Linked DNA regions of Homo sapiens: region 2 is linked to region 1. Evidence: promoter capture Hi-C in 16 types of primary human blood cells and fetal thymus (Javierre and others, 2016). All regions are on one chromosome and are shown on one strand. The core of a region is centred on a gene start or on the middle of the fragment in contact, and the rest is flanking DNA. Distances in the headings are between cores, read along the strand shown.

Evidence for each region. Contacts are between HindIII fragments. The CHiCAGO score rates a contact against its expected background, and 5 or more counts as called.
Region 2: a contact is called between the fragment with the promoter of MDH1B here and the fragment with the promoter of ITGAV in region 1, in 1 of 17 cell types (activated CD4 T cells). The highest score is 5.3, in activated CD4 T cells.

Annotation. Positions count from the first base shown.
Region 1 is chr2:186,586,416-186,591,305 of GRCh38, reverse strand. It overlaps ITGAV (integrin subunit alpha V), which reads right to left and starts at 1,250. Exons shown (of 30, transcript NM_002210.5): 1 at 783-1,250. The coding sequence starts at 967. LOC124906105 (a long non-coding RNA gene) reads left to right here and starts at 1,410. Exons shown (of 2, transcript XR_007087465.1): 1 at 1,410-2,316. RefSeq lists an enhancer at 768-827 and a silencer at 958-1,187. The HindIII fragment of the contact is 2,158 bases long and covers 1-1,659 here.
Region 2 is chr2:206,762,583-206,767,495 of GRCh38, reverse strand. It overlaps MDH1B (malate dehydrogenase 1B), which reads left to right and starts at 2,168. Exons shown (of 12, transcript NM_001039845.3): 1 at 2,168-2,246. The coding sequence starts at 2,225. FASTKD2 (FAST kinase domains 2) reads right to left here and starts at 1,890. Exons shown (of 12, transcript NM_001136193.2): 1 at 1,749-1,890; 2 at 26-852. The coding sequence starts at 802. RefSeq lists enhancers at 1,620-1,999, 2,250-2,389. The HindIII fragment of the contact is 1,569 bases long and covers 1,112-2,680 here.

The sequences.
Region 1 (4,890 bases), core at 1-2,500:
GACGGCCCTTGCAACGCGGAACGTTGGCAACTTGAAAACATAACTGAATTATTAAATACTGCAGTATTCAAATGACCTGCAGCGAGTGAAAACTCAGCAAACACCCTTGTTCCTTCTGAACAATGACCTAAATAGTGAATCACTATAAAAAGAACAGATGACACATTCAATTCATCTGTTCAACCTCAAATGTGCAAATGTCTGACAGTCCCAGAGATAAGACACAATGAATTCAATAGGACAGTATGGTCATTTTAAGTCATCAGAATGTCTGCAAAAGGAGTAAGGAGAAACAGAATCAGACAGAGGCGGAAAGAGTGGGGGAGGGCTTGTTTAGGGAGACTGAAAAGGACGGGCGTTAAGCCTGTAAAGCAGAAAAAGGCTACCAAGAAGCCTAACTGGTAGAGGAGAAAAAGAAGTTCGGGGATGATATTGACCAAATCCTCGACACTGGCACAGGAGGCGGGGAGTCCGGCAAGACCAGCCTTTGTTGATTTCCCACTTTCCCCGATTTTTAAGCACAGGTCTGCTTCAAAGCTCTCCCGCTGCCCCTAACCAATTTTAAGAGGTGAGAAGCGGGGTGTAACTGGGTGATGGGTACCAAAGGGAGTTCATTTCCCCAAATATTTCCTCCACCCAGGATATAAACCACTCTGAGAGGTAGGATGGGTGAGACAGACAGACGCCGGGATCTCTCGGAAATCAATCCCAATGGAGAAACGCTGGGTGGGTGCGCGCGGTGGGGGAGGGGGCCGGCTCCAGTTCCAAGTGCGGCCACTTACGAAGACGCGCTGGGCACGAAGAAATCCACGGCGAAGCCGAAGTAACTTCCCTCGGGGCCAGAGTACTCGGCAGGACTGTCCACGTCTAGGTTGAAGGCGCGGCACAGAGGTAGCAGGAGTCCCGAGAGAAGAAGCGGGAGGCCGCGGGGACCGAGGCGCAGCCGTCGCCGCGGCGGAAAAGCCATCGCCGAAGTGCGCGCGGGACGCCAAGCCGGGAGCGGTAGCCACCTCCCCCCGCCCCAGCGAGGCGCCCAGTGCCCGCGGCCCGCCGCCTGCGCGCGCCCAAACTTGCCGGCCGCTCTCTTCTCGGCTAGCCCGGGACAGCTCCGGGGCAGGCAAGAGGGCTGAGCTTCGGAGCGACCGCCAGGGACGAGGGGCGCAGAGCGCGCGGGGCGGGGACAGCAGCGCAGACGGTCCTTTGCTTCCCTCCGGCTCCGCCGCTCCACGCAGCGTCTGAGGCTGGGGACTGCCGGGGTGAGCGCCGCACCTCAGGCCTGAGAGCCGCGGCGGCACTGGGAGGAGACCTGGAAGGAGGAGGAGCCGGCCCGGGAGGCTGCTGTGGAGCTGGAGGAGGAAGTGGGGGAGGAGAGGCGCCCTTCTACAGGGGAGAGCTCAGCGTACTTCCGTGAGTGCAGTCGCCGCCTGTCCCGAGACCTGGGCGTCTGTGCAGGGGCCCCCAGCTCCTGAGCCTGGGTCAGCGGCAGCGCTCCTGGACGAAGGCCTCAGGCTGAGCACCTGAGGAGGCGTGGGGGCGGGGGCGGGGAGATACGGTCCAGCGTCCCAATCTACCCGCGTCCACGGGAGTAGCAAGGGCACCCACGTTCCCTTGTCCCGCCGGGAACTTCCGTGCGACTGTTGTTTAAAAATGAGGAAAGCTTTTTATCAGTTTCTCGTGTTTCTGCTGCTTAGCCTGGCAGGCTCTCACGAACGAAACCCTGTTAATTAATGGTCGTTAATTACACTCCATTCCACAAACACTGAACTTAATTACGGATTTCCAGAAAGCCAGCATAGCCTCTTGCAAGTGAGGTATGTAAAGCTTAACTTAGTAGTCAAAGAAAGGATTCGCAGGGCAAAGAATTGGCAGTGATCGTTTTAAATCAAGTCAGAATAATCGAAGCCTTATTCCCAGTTTGTTAGCTGCGGTTGTATGATTTAGAAACACTGATTTGTTGATTTAGGATGTTTGGATAGACATAATTTCAGAGCTGGAAGAAGGACCGCACACCGGTGAAATAAGGCCCCGCGTGCTTGTTTGCCACTGGTGTGTTTCATCAAGCCTTGACAACACTGGACTGAGAGAGAGGGCCTTGAGGACAGGAACCTTGACCTTTTTCTTAGTGTTCTTATTTCTAGCACCTTGCCAAGCAGATAGTAGTCGATCAATAAAATGTCCAATCAGTGAATGAATAGCAGACGAAATGAGCAAAGTGCCCAGAGAAGTGACTCTTCCATATTTCAAGTGTTTCATGTGCTACAGAATCTGTTGAACAAGGTGAAGTTTAAGTGCATTGTGTGGACTTACAACTTACAAGTAAGTACTGGAACAGTAATTTCTGTTTTCCCAAAGTAACTATTAAAACTCAATCATAATATACATTAATAACTATCAAATAATCCTGTGAAAGGATATGTATATAAATGAAAGTGAAATGCCTAATTCGAATTTGTAATATTTATTGGACCAGGTCCAGGTGCTCATGCTGGCAATCTCAGCACTTTGGGAGACTGAGGCAGGAGGATTGCTTGAGACCGGGAGTTCCAGGGGAACATAGGGAGACCTCATCTCTACAAAAATTTAAAAATTAGCTGGGAGTGTGGTGCATGCCTGTAGTCCCAGCTATGCCGGAGGCTAAGGCAGGTAGATAGATCGCTTAGGCTCAGGAGTTCCAGGTTATGATAAGTCATGAGCCTGCCACTGCACTCCAGCCTGAGTGACAGAACAAGACCCTGTGTTTAAAAAAAAAAAAGGCCGGGCGAGGTGGCTCATGCCTGTAGTCCTAGCACTTTGGGAGGCTGAGGCCGGCAAATTGCCTGAGCTCGGGAGTTCGAGACCAGCCTGGGCAACACAGTGAAATCCCGTCTCTACTAAAATACAAAAAATTAGCCGGGCGTGGCGGCATGCGCCTGCAGTCCCAGCTACTCAGGAGGCTGAGGCAGGAGAATTGCTTGAACCCGGAAGGCGGAGGCTGCAGTAAGCTGAGATGGTGCCACTGCACTCCAGCCTGGGCCACAGAGTGAGACTCCATCTCAAAAAAAAAATGCATTAAATATTTCCATTTTTAAATTTGACTAAAAGATATGCAGCAAAACCTTTGGCATGTTTTACAAGGCATGGTCTAGCATCTGCCTGAAAGAAATTACTGATTGAGAGAAGAAATCCTACACAAATCCTTACACATAAATGCAAATACAGCTTATTTCTCACCTTCTTTCCTAATACACCAAAGAGGCTATTGATATGTATGCATAAACCCAAAGGGTCTTTTATATCTTAAAAACATGACAACCAGTCTACCTGGAAATCCATCCAGGTAAGGAAGACAGAAGAGTTTAAACTCTGGCTAGATCCAGTAAGTCTCCCACTCCTCAACTTCTGATCGCAGGACAGGGGTCCGACAGACCAAGGTGGAGTGAAGAAATGTGAGAGGACCAGGGAAAAGAAGAAGCCCACGAAATGACAACACATGTACACCCACCAAAACTTGGGTGAACAACACACCCCCAAATAGGGCTACAACTTACTGAAAGCACTTACTGTTGAGCCATTCTTTATGAGTTTATTTTGAATGAGCAGTCTTGAAAATCAAGGAATTTGTTTTTTTTAAAAAAGCAAATAGTCCAGGCACTGTGGCTCATGCCTGTAATCCCAGCATTTTGGGAGGCCGAGGTGGGTGGATCACCTGAGGTCAGGAGTTCAAGACCAGCCTGGCCAACACAGTGAAACCCCGTCTCTACTAAAAATACAAAAATTGGCCGGGCGCAGTGGCTCACTCACACCTGTAATCCCAGCACTTTGGGAGTCCAAAGTGGGTGGATCACGATGTCAGGAGTTCAAGACCAGCCTGGCCAAGATGGTGAAAGCCTATCTCTACTAAAAATACAAAAATTAGCTGGGTGCAGTGGCAGGCACCTGTAATCCCAGCTACTTGGGAGGCTGAGGCAGGAGAATCACTTGAACCTGGGAAGCAGAGGTTTCAGTGAGCCAAGATCGTGCCACTGCACTTCAGCCTGGATGACAGAATGAGACTCCATCTCAAAAAAGAAAAAACAGTAGCCAGGCATGGTGGTGTGTGCCTGTAATCTCAGCTACTCAGGAGACTGAGGCAGGAGAATTGCTTGAACCCGGAAGGCAGAGGCTACAGTGAGCCGAGATATTGTGGTATTGTGGGCCACTGTGCTCCAGCCTGGGTGACAGAGCGAGACTGTCTAACAACAAAAAAAAGCAAACATACATTTCAATTAGGAAACTATGAAGCAGACTAACCCAGTGGCTTTAGAAACTTGGGGTTATAAATGCAGGCATCTCTTTGTGTGACCATGCTCGAGCAGCCACTCACACAGTGCCTTGCAAATTGTATTGTAGAACATGTCAATTCAGCTAGTGCTGATTCAAAATCCACATTGCACCTGGTACTATGTGCATGGGACAGAGAAAAGAATGTTTTAGTCTACGAAAGAATGGTGGTGCCCCTCCCCTACCCCCATGACACTACTCTTTGAACTACATTATAACAGTTTTCCAACTTAAAAGGAGAACTTCTGTGTATACATTAAGTATTCATTGAATATAATCCTTTTCTTAGAAAATAAAATATTAGATAGTAAAAAGAATTTGTACTTTGAATTTTATCCTCTACTACCCTATACTTTAGTAAAAATCTTGATTCCAGTGGTTTCTGTAAAATAAAGCACCTGGGTTCCATTCCTGGCTTTGCCAACTACTAGTTGTATGACCCTGGGGAAATCAATCCAACCAATCTGTGCCTCAGTTTTCTTATCTATGAAAGGGAAAGGGGAGTAATACTATGTCTATCTCTTAGAATTGAACAGTTCTTGTTGCCATTAATACTTTTAAGACTAATAGTTTAGCATGGTAGCAATAATA
Region 2 (4,913 bases), core at 919-3,418, about 20 Mb before region 1:
TGTTTAAATCTCCTTTTTATTTTACCTGGGTCACCCTCAGCAAAGTCTGCACCAAAATAGTGTTCTGAGGGATTCCAAGCTTCACTATGGCGTGAAGACTGAACAGTAGGTACTTATACTGCATGATCTTGGCTTCTCTCATCATATGTTCACAGAGCTGATTAAATGCAGGGTGGCTAAACATCAGTCGTTTTTCAAAGCGCTTCTGGTCATCAGACAGTCTTTTGGCAATTGTCCACATTGCTGTGAAATAGTTGCTACTAGGAAATGTGGGCGCTTTTGAAAATGCATCTAACACATCACTCAGGGAATTACATTCCTCAGACAGTTTTCTACTGCTGATACGGTTTGGTTTTGTTTCCTTGGTAAGAACATCTTCATTGGAGACTTCATGATTAAGGTTTACTTTCTTCAATTCATCATCAGATTTATCAACAGGGACAAGAGACTGCTTTGAGTCAAAAAACAGTCTTTTAGCATAAAGTAGTCTTTCAATTCTAAGGGCTGTTAGAGTGCTTATGCCCTTTGTTTGAAAGCCAACATCTGATTTAAAAATGAATGCATCCTGAAAGAGATATCTAATGATATCAGTTGATTGCATTCTGTTATGAAAGTTATTTAAAATGTTCCAGTTTGAATGAACTATTTTTGGTTTGCAAAGTCCCAAACAACATAGCCTCATAGTTCTGCTTGTTGAAACTAATGTACTGAATTGTCTAAGGTTCCAGAAAAAGGAGCCCGCTTTGTTATTCATTTTGCTCTCCACTGAAACACTTCCAAATGGCTTCAAAGTTGTCAACATGAAACCAACGTCACTTCTACTAGTGAAAAAGAACACGTGCTGTCGTTTTCCTGTAGGGGAAGAAGTAATGAAAAGAATAAAAATTAAAACAAAACTTTTACTTAAAGAAATGAAATGCATTTAACAGAAGAGAAAATGGGGAACCTATGGAGCCATTAAACATTTACATAAAACAGTAAAAGTTTTTTTTACCAATGTGGGCTCCCTCCAATCTACCACAATGTGTCCAGTTTCAAAGAAGCCAGGTCACTTTGGAAGTAGTCATTGTATTAATGAGATTTTTCTGGTGCAAAAGCGTTCCATAAAGCTTTCTCTGTAGGAGAGACTTTTGTTGGCATTGTTATGGAAATGTCCTCGGTGAAAATTAGGGGATTAGCATTGATAGATCATTTTCTTTTCTCTTCTCTGTTTTTTTTTTTTTTTTTTTTTTTTTTGAGACAAAGTCTTGCTATGTCCCCCAGGCTAGAGTGCAGTGGCGCGATCTTGGCTCACTGCAACCTCCACCTCCCAGGTTCAAGCAATTCTCCTGTCTCAGCCTCCCAAGTAGCTGGGATTACAGGCGTATGCCACCACGCCCGGCTAATTTTTGTATTTTTTGTAAAGACGGAGTTTCACCATGTTGGCCAGGCTGGTCCTGAACTCCTGACCTCAGGTAATCCACCCGCCTCGGCCTCCCAAGGCGTGAGTCACCGCGCCCGGCTGATAGATCATTTTCAACATGACGATTTAGCAACGGCCGAACCCAGACCATCAAGAATAGGGACCTGGGCAGGTAGAACGGCTCAGTGGAAGAAGCAGAAAACGAAAGCGATGTCTGCACGTGGCCTGCGCTTAAGAGGAAGATCTTATACAACCAGCCAGCCTCACCAGACCCCAGAACCAACTTCAAGAGCCTGTCCTTCCGCAGCTGGGCCGCCCAGCATTAACCCACCTCCTTTAAACTTACTTCCAGGACAACTCGTGAGACTCTTCTCCTCGAAGTAAAAAGTCTAGGATGTGATACGGGCTGCCGCTAAGCCCAAGCTCGTCCTCCACTCACCTTAGAGCACAAGACCGTGACTACGTACAGGAGCAGCCATGACAGCTTCCCCGAGAAGCTGCGCTTCTCACGAGATCTTACGGATTCCCTCAAAGGTCAAAAAGCATATGTTCGCGGCTGTAGCTGAAGGACTTACTTGAAGAAAGTTTACCAAGGAGAATGACTAATTTCCCTGCATACAGGAGTGGGGCTCGGGGATACCACAGAGCTTATAAGGGCGATGTTTGATCGTGTATCGCAACGTAACCCATTCAGGTCCTAACTTTAAACACCTAACCTCTGCTGGGCGCCAGACTTTGTAGTGCGCCTGCGCCTTGCCCTTGGCTGCGTGGTTGCCAGGAAACCGCGAAGCCGCGGTCCCTGCCTCTGAGTCTCTCTCGACCATGGCCAAATTCGTCATCGCGGGTGAGTGATCCCCGCGTCCGCCCGCAGATTGCTCAAAACGCCGACAACAGCTCACCTCCCATGGCCGCTCGGCTTGGCAGCCTCTATACGGACCGCTCCATGCTTTGCTATAGATTTATTCAAAGTTTTTTACTGGACCGTGACGGTGCGCCAAGCATTGTGGGACACTGGGGATGCAATGGAGGGAAACATATCCCTGCCTTAGAGGAGCTTTCAGTCTCATGGGGCACAGAACATGTACTTTTGATACGGTGTGATTAACGCGATGAAGGAGACCTGCACAGGCCTCTGGGAGCGTAGACTCCTAATCTGGGTTTGGGGGATGAGGGAGAGGTGGACACAAGGAACTGGCTGGGGAAGGTATTACAGGAGCTGAGTTGTGAAGGTGTGAGCTGAGGAGGCTATTCCAAATAAAAGCAGAGAGGCAGGAAGCTTCCTGGCCTAACAGAAGATCTGGATATGTGGGGCGTGACAGGACCTGGGGCTACAACAGGAGCAGGAGCCAGGTCCTTGCATTTCATGTAGGTCAAGCAAAGGTGTTTGAACTGTATCCTGAAAGCAATGAGGAATTATAGAAAAATTTTAAGCAGGAGAGTAGTCTTAATGAGTTTGCATTTTAGGAAGCCTGTCTTGGCAGCAACGGAGAGAATGATTGAAAGTGCTGGTTGACAGCAAGGACTCAACTGAGAAGGCTTTTATTACAACAATCCATGGTACCTACCTCCTCTCCTCGTAAAGTTTCTTAAAAGAGTAGACTGCTCTTCCATCTCCAGTTCTGCCTTCCAATCAGTCTTGGAAGAAGGCTTCTACTTCTGCTTCCTGACAGAAACTGCTGTCACCAAAGTCACCACTGACTTTTATAGAAGCTGTTTAGTCTTTGACTTATTTGATCTCTTTGATGCATTGAACACAATTGACATCTACCATCCACAGGAGATTTTTTTTTTTTTTTGAGACAGGCTCTCACTTTGTCACCCAGGCTGGATTGCAGTGGTGCAATCGTGGCTCACAGCAGCTTTGACCTCCTGGGCTCAAGCGATCCTCCCACCTCAGCCTCCCAAGTAGCTGGGACTACAGGCATACACCAGCATGCCCAGCTAATTTTTGTATTTTTGTAGAGATGGGGTTTTGTCATGTTGCCCACGCTGGTCTTGAACTCCTACGCTCAAGTGATTTGCCCACCTTGACCTCCCAAAGTGCCAAGATTACAGGCATGCACCACCACACCTGGCCCAGAAGAATATTTTTGAACACTGACTAACCACATGGTGGGAAGTCAGTGGAAAACACACAGAGAATGTTGCATGTATGACACTGACAGGGCAGGGTTCTATAGGAACGATAGCAGGGACCTTACTTAATCAGGTAAGGGTTTCCCAGAGGGAGAGATTTTAAGCAGATACCTGAAAGATGATAATGAATTACCTAACAGAGAAGAGGTAGAAAGGAGGGGAGCAATTTAGGCATGGGTAACTGGGAGTGGGGTTAGAGCAAGGAGAACTAGTTTGGTGACAATTGAGAATATAAAATAAGTATAAAATTGAAATAAGTTTATTAGGACTGAAGCAAATAGTACAAGGAAGAGAATTTCATAAGGTGAGGCTAGAGTTAGATAATGTAGATTCTTTTGAGCCACATTCAGTAGTTTAGACTTTATCCAGAGTACATGAAAGGTTTTTAGAAGGGGAGGAGGGCCTAATCAAATCTGAATTTTATCTGAATGTTACGGCTATAGTGTGGGACAAAAAGACTGGATACCAAGAAACCAGTTAGGAGACTAGTGCTATAGTCCAGGAGGGAGTTGATTGTGACCTGGCCTAGAGTGGCAAACAATGGAGATGGAGAGAAGTGAATGGATTGGAGAGATATTAGGGAGGCAGAATCTATAGAACTGGATGTCTAATTGACTGGAGGAGGGCAGATAAGGGAGAAAAAGGAGTTAAACATTGTTCCCAAGCAGAGGTTTGAATAATTGCAGAGATTAGGAGTCACTGAAAAAAAAAAAAAAGCGGATGAGTAGGTTTAATACTCTGGATACTCTTACTACTCTTAGATAATTAGGGAGATGGACATAATAAATATAAGCGACTAAGCACATTTAGTAGGGGAATGGTGACAAAATACATCATAGACCTTCTGAGTGTCTATGAGACATTTTGAAGGAGATGGGAAAATACAGGAGGGTGTAGGCATCTAGATAAGGAGATCTGAGCTGGAAATATAGATTGCTACTTGAAGCCAAGGGAATGAAGCAGATTGGCCAAAAAGAATATGTAAGTTATAAAGACAAGATGCTTCTCAGAATGATACCTTTTAATGGGTTGATAAAGGAATGGAAACCTACAAAGGATAGAAAGGAGTGACCATAGAATAGGAGAACTGGGAGAATGCCCCCACTATAGCAGTGTTTCAAAAGCCTGGAAGGGGGCAGTGGTGGCAAATGCTGCCAAGGGTCAACAAGAAAAGGATCGGAAAGTATCTGCTGGATTTAGTGGCATGGAAGTCTTCAGTGACCTTCAAGAGAATTGTGGGGTCTGCTACATTGCAGTGGGTGAGAAATAAATGGAAGTGAAGAACTGAGGATGGCAAATATAGGGAACTCTTTCAAGATATTTTGATCAAAAAGGACATACGAAAGGCAATAGCTAGAGGGGGAGATGAGTTTTT